Regions from separate parts of the Homo sapiens genome. Here region 2 is linked to region 1. Evidence: promoter capture Hi-C in human tissues and cell types (Jung and others, 2019). All regions are on one chromosome and are shown on one strand. Each heading gives the region's core, a stretch centred on a gene start or on the middle of the fragment in contact. The rest is flanking DNA. Distances are from core to core; before and after follow the strand shown. Region 1 holds the start of DCTPP1 (dCTP pyrophosphatase 1). Region 2 holds the start of CORO1A (coronin 1A).

Evidence for each region. Contacts are between HindIII fragments. The study calls those that stand out against the background at their distance.
Region 2: a contact is called between the fragment with the promoter of CORO1A here and the fragment with the promoter of DCTPP1 in region 1, in 1 of the 25 tissues and cell types used here (heart left ventricle).

Annotation. Positions count from the first base shown.
Region 1 is chr16:30,428,452-30,431,375 of GRCh38, reverse strand. DCTPP1 (dCTP pyrophosphatase 1) reads left to right here and starts at 1,346. Exons shown (of 3, transcript NM_024096.2): 1 at 1,346-1,496; 2 at 2,209-2,319. The coding sequence starts at 1,396. RefSeq lists enhancers at 899-1,008, 1,409-1,488, 2,242-2,742, 2,743-2,924. The HindIII fragment of the contact is 14,232 bases long and covers 1-2,924 here.
Region 2 is chr16:30,182,264-30,185,097 of GRCh38, reverse strand. It overlaps CORO1A (coronin 1A), which reads right to left and starts at 1,496. Exons shown (of 11, transcript NM_007074.4): 1 at 1,373-1,496. CORO1A-AS1 (CORO1A antisense RNA 1) reads left to right here and starts at 310. Exons shown (of 2, transcript NR_186359.1): 1 at 310-594; 2 at 1,327-1,705. RefSeq lists enhancers at 1-132, 133-674, 675-1,215, 2,634-2,743 and silencers at 1,064-1,173, 1,204-1,663, 1,804-1,913. The HindIII fragment of the contact is 26,104 bases long and covers 1-2,834 here.

The DNA of each region.
Region 1 (2,924 bases), core at 97-2,596:
TGTGGCCGGTGGGGGTGGCTCGTGCCTGTAATCCCAGCACTTCGGGAGGCCAAGGCAGGAGGATTGCTAGAGCCCAATCCAGCAATCCTGGTTCAAGACCAGCTTAGGCAACATGGTGAAACCCTGTCTCTATAAAAAATTTAAAAAATAAAAATAATAGATTTCTTTTTCTTGCTAAAAGCAGTTTAAACTTGTTTCTGTTGCATGTATCCAATCTTAACTGCTGGATAATATCATTTGTATAAATATACTTCCATGTAGCCATTCTTCCGTTGATAGTCATTTTATTTTCAATTTTTTTCACTCTTAGAAACAAAACTGTAATGAACTTCTTGCATGTGTCTCTCTGCACATATTCATTAATTTCTCTAGGGCATATACCTAGAATTGCAATTGTCACAGCCTTGGGATTTTAATTTCCAAAATCTGACTCTGCCTCTTCCTGCGCTTTCTTACGCTTTCACTTCCAGCAAGCTGGAAGCCTCTTTAAACGTGGAAATCAGAGATAGTAGCCCTAATAAGGGTACAATAATAAATCATTCTTTGCAAGACTACACCTGTTCTAGGGTTTCATAAAGATCTCTGCTCCTCCCATGGCCAATAACTCAGTGGTTCTGATTTGAAAGCAGCAACCCTGTGACTCGCCACCTCGCGTATTCCCTGGTGTGAGTGGAGCCTGGAGTTCTCGTGTGTGGGGTGGAGGAGCCGTGCTGGGGACCCATGAGGCTGGAGAGGCCGGCACAGGCCAGACCATAAGGGGCCACGTGTTTCAGGGCAATGTACGTTGCGCTGGGGCCTACTGCCTCCCTTAGGACAGGGATGGGGCGACCTCCATCGTTTCAACCACAGGACACAGCGATGGCGGGGAGCTGAAGTCCTACTGCCGTCTGATCTTACTCCGCTCTTCCCCTTCAATCCCATCCAAATAGTGTGGGGGTTGGCCTCGAGGTTTCTCAACGTCCTTAAGCCCTGATTTAATACCTATGCATAGGGCCTTTCATTTATAGGGTTTTCCACCTGACGGGCCCTCTTCCGCTGCCGTTTCGCTTTGGCGCCCTCTGGCGCCCATAAACGAAGTGACGCGCCTGCGCTTCCCCCACCCTCTGCCCTTCGTCTCTTCCCCAGGTCGAATTGGTACCTCTACCTTTAGACACAGGGCCTAGCGGAAGAATTCCAGGGCCTAAGACTAGAAACGCGCGCTTGAAGCTCCCTCAGATTGGTCCAGTGAGGGAAGGGGAGGGCTGTAGCAAACTCCACAAAAGTCATTGGTCTCTTTCCTCAGGCTCCGCCCCGTGAGGCAATAGAGAACTCCCGTAATTGGTCGGAGCTCTGGAGGCGGGGCTTCGAGCGTGGCTCGTGGGTTTTCCGTGAAGTCGCGGTGCAGCGGTGGGCGGCATGTCTGTGGCCGGTGGGGAGATTCGTGGGGACACGGGGGGAGAGGACACTGCTGCTCCCGGCCGGTTCAGCTTCAGCCCGGAGCCCACGCTCGAGGACATGTAAGCAGGCCTGGCCCAGCTCGGGGTGGGGAAGTCGCCCCTTTCTCCCGCGTTTTGGGGAGGGTTCCTCCACGTGGTCGGGAAGCGGGCTGGCAGCGGGGCTCGGGTCCTGGCTCTGTGGGCTGTCCCTGGGTGAGCCTTCTTACCTCATCTGCAAAATGGGCGCAGCGGTGCACACCTGAGGCAAGGGAAATTGGGTGGTGCCTCCGAGTGGTAACTAGGAACGCCCTTCAGCCTAGCCCTGGGAAGATACCGGCACCAGATACCGCCTCTGCTCTCCAGGCGCCGGGGGTACGAGAGGGGCAAACGAAGTGCTGAGAGGTGGGAGACGTTATTTTTTGCTGGAGGAGGTCAAGAAAGGCTTCTTAGAGGAAGGGTCTGTGGAACTACCTTCTGTAAGAGAAATTGCATTTTGATGTGCGGCGATTCCAGGTGGAGGAAACTGCAGAAGTAGCAGCAGGAGATGGAATAATGAAGAGGGTTTTGTTAGTTTTGGCGAGATGTTAAGGGCAGTTCAGGGGCACGCCCATTTTATAGATGAGGGAACCAAGTTCCGGAAAGAGGAAATGACCTGCACAATACCATCCAATGAATTAGTTGCAGAATCTCCTGGTCCCAGGCCCCATTACATACTACGGGGGTAGCTGCCTCTGGCCCCTGCATCACCCTCTAACCCGGAGACTTGGACTTACACTCCTTTGTCCTATTTCAGCCGCCGCCTCCATGCTGAGTTTGCTGCGGAACGAGACTGGGAACAGTTCCATCAGCCTCGGAATCTCCTCCTGGCCTTGGTTGGGGAAGTGGGGGAGCTGGCAGAACTCTTGTGAGTAGATGGAAAGCTTCCTGGTAGAGTCTGAGTTGTGGGGGAGGGGAGGGGAGCATTTATTTGGTCTTCAAACATTCATGGGTTCAGTTTCCCCTCCTGATTGCTAGGCTCTTTGCTGTTGTTGGGATGCAGAGAGGACTCACGGGTCCCTGCCCTCTAGGGGCACTCAGCCTCCTGGAAGAGAGAGGTGTGAGGTGTGAAAGCATCAGGACAGGTCCCGTCTAGGAAGAAGCAGTGGCAACAACCCTTTTCCCTTCTTTTGTTTTTTGTTTTTTTGGCTTTTTTTTGAGACGGGGTCTCGCTCTGTCGCCCAGGCTGGAGTGCAGTGGCTCAATTTCGGCTCACTGCAACATCCGCCTCCTGGGTTTAAGCAGTTCTGTCTCAGCCCCCCGAGTAGCTGGGACTACAGGTGCCCCCCACCACGCCTGGCTAATTTTTGTATTTTTAGTGGAGACGGGGTTTCACCATATTGGTCAGGCTAGTCTCAAATTCCTGACCTCAGGTGATCCACCCGCCTTGGCCTCCCAAAGTGCTGGGATTACAGGGGTGAGCCACCACGCCTGGCCCAACAACCCTTTTCCTCTGCCTCTGGGGCTGAAAGG
Region 2 (2,834 bases), core at 247-2,746, 250 kb after region 1:
ATCTCCAGGGGCTCCCTATTCTTCCCTCTGTGGCTGATGCCTGCTTGCCTTCCCCAGCCTCTCCTTCCCTCTAACCTGCAAGCCCCCTTCTCCCTGGCCCCAGGCCACTCTGAGCCACCCTCTCAATCTGTACCCTCAGCCTCTGCAACAGAGCCTGGCGTGGTGTTGCCCCACTGCATGTTTGTTGACTGACTGGCTGATGGATGCAGAGCCCGTCCTTCCTAATGGTTCAGACTCAGGCGTCATCAGCCCAGATGGCTCCGAGGGTGGGTTCTCTCTTAGTTACCGTGTCCAGAGCCCACCTCCCTCACACCCACACAGCGCTTCCTAAAGGCAGGGACAGGAGCTGGCCTCCCTCGCCTGCTGGCATGGGGCTGGACACAGGAGGAAGTGGCGTGGGGGCTGCCTGAGGGGAGTGAGGCGGCAGGATAGCTTCCCCAGCAGGTCTCTGGCTCAGGTCCAGGTATCTCCTCCTCCCCATACCTCTGCCTCTCGCCTCCGCTCAGAAAAGCAGGTGCCCTTAAGAGCCATCTCCACCCCCATGTAAACTGCACACAGGAAGGGAGAGGCCACTCCGACTGCTCTGAGGTCCAGGTAGGATGGTTTCCCCCAGTGTCTGGGTGGGGAGCAAGGAACTCCAGGGGCGACCTTGTGCCACCGCATCACCTTCCTGCTCAGGGAAGGGGCCTGTGCTGCCGCTTGGAGGGTGCCATGCCCAGAGCCTCTGCCCCTAGCCTCAGCCTCGCCTACTCACTGGGGGCTCCAGCACCCCCGGCCACCCCAGGACTCCCGAAGAGGCTGCTAGGTCGGCCTGCCCAAAGAGCGGTGAGGAGCGTATGTGAAGAGCCCCAGTCTTGAGGAGCAGCCTGTATCTGGAGAGAGGGGAGCCCCGGACCAGAGGTGGGGGACAGGAAGCCATCGCCCCACCCTGCCTCCTCCCCCACCACAGGTACCAGGCCCGGAAACCACGGAAAGGGGAACTTGGTCTTTTCTTGTTTTGCTCTCAACCCCTTCCTGTCTCCAAGCCCAGGGCAGCTGCCCCGCTCACCCCACCCTGCCCTCGTCCCCACCCTCCCCGAGACTCAATTCCGTGGGGAGTCGGGCCCTCGACACTGTGCTGACCCCCGGCCACCCACCTCCATCTTGGCCGCGGTGGTCCCTAGCCCTCGCCTCCGCAGAGCGCTCTGGGGCCCCGGCGGCCCCCACTCCAAGCAGCGTCCCCCCACGGGCTGCTGCGCCCGCTACCTGGCCCCGGCGCTGGCTGGGTCGCGGTGACAGCCGCGCGCCCCCGCAGCCCGCGGCTCCCACGCGCGCGCCGCCCCACAGGTGGCCCTCGCCCCGGCCCACCCGCGCCTCCCAGGCCCAGCCTCACCTGCTGCCGAGAGAGGACAGTGATCCCCCAAAAGCCGGAGGTGGAGGAGGAGGAGGAAGAGGAGGAAGGAGCTGGAGGAGCCGGGGACTCGCCCGCTGAAGATGCTCTTGTCAAGACAATGAATGAGAAGCAGCCGTGCGCCCGCCTCCGGGGTGGCCGCGCCCCTTGGGGCGGAGCTCTTCCAGGCCCGCCCTGCGCTCCCGGGCTCCCGCTGCGGCCGCCTCTCTCCCCGGCCCCTGCCCGTGCACCACGTTGGTCCCCAACCATAGCGCAGGCTGCCATCCCGGCTCCGGGAAGCGAATCTAAACTTCTTTTTAAAATGTCAAAACGCAAGAGCACCCCATTGCTTCTTTCCTCCCTGCGTCCGCCCCCAGCCTCCTCGCCAGCCTTTCCCTGGCAGGCACGAAAGCGCCCCAGGCCCGCCCGCCAGGCCTCGGTGCCCGCCCCGGCCCGGCTGCGCCGCCCCTTCCTCCCGGCCCCGCAGACGCGAGCGCAGGGGGCGCGGGGGGCGCGGGGGGCGCGAGGGGCGCGGGGGGCGCGGGCGAGGAGGAGCCCCGAGCGCGCTCCTGGACCCCCGGGACCTGGCTCTTGCCTGGCTCTGAGATCTAAGCATGGGTGGCCCCGGGAGTCGCTTCTCCTCCCTGGATCTCCTGGCTTCATCGGGAACACCCCTGCCCTCCTGCTGAAATAATCCGGCATCACGGGCACCTACTTCGTGCCAGGGGCTACAGGGTCGAGCAAGGCAGGCAAGCCAGGCAGGTTTCCGCCCCTGAAGAGCCCAGCCTGGGGGAAGGAGGAGGAGCCCACGGCCGCTCCAAGCCCTGGCTTTGGCGAAGGCTCGAGGGCAAGGAGGAATAGTTCCCACCCTTGGATTCAGAGAGGCTTCTGGAGGCAGCAACAGCGGGCAGGAAAGGCCTGCTCTAGAGTCAGACTATGTCATGAGTGCGACCGCAGCCTGTCACCTGCTGAGTGAGGTGTGGCCGCTACTTAGCCTTTCTCAGCCTCGGTTTCTCCCTCTGTAACAGTCATACCTGCCACGTAAGAGGTATGGGGATGATTACCTAAAATAACCCAAGGAAGTCAGTAAGGACCTCATCTAGAAAGTGGCGGGTGCTTAATAAACGTTAGCTCTCAGCCATGCGTAGTGACTCACGCCTGTAATCCCAGCACTTTGGGAGGCCAAGGCTGGCGGATCACCTGAGGTCAGGAGTTCGAGACCAGCCTGGCCAACATGGTAAAACCGCATCTCTACTAAAAATACAAAAATTAGCGTGGTGTAGTGATGCACCCCTGTAATCCCAGCTACTGAGGAGGCTAAGGCATGAGAATAGCTTGAACCCTGGAGGCAGAGGCTGCAGTGAGCCAAGATTGAGCCACTGTTATCACCCAGTCTTCTCTGGGTGAAAGAGCAAGACCGTCTCATTTTAAAAAAAGTTAGCTCTCATCATTCTTGTTTAAAAAG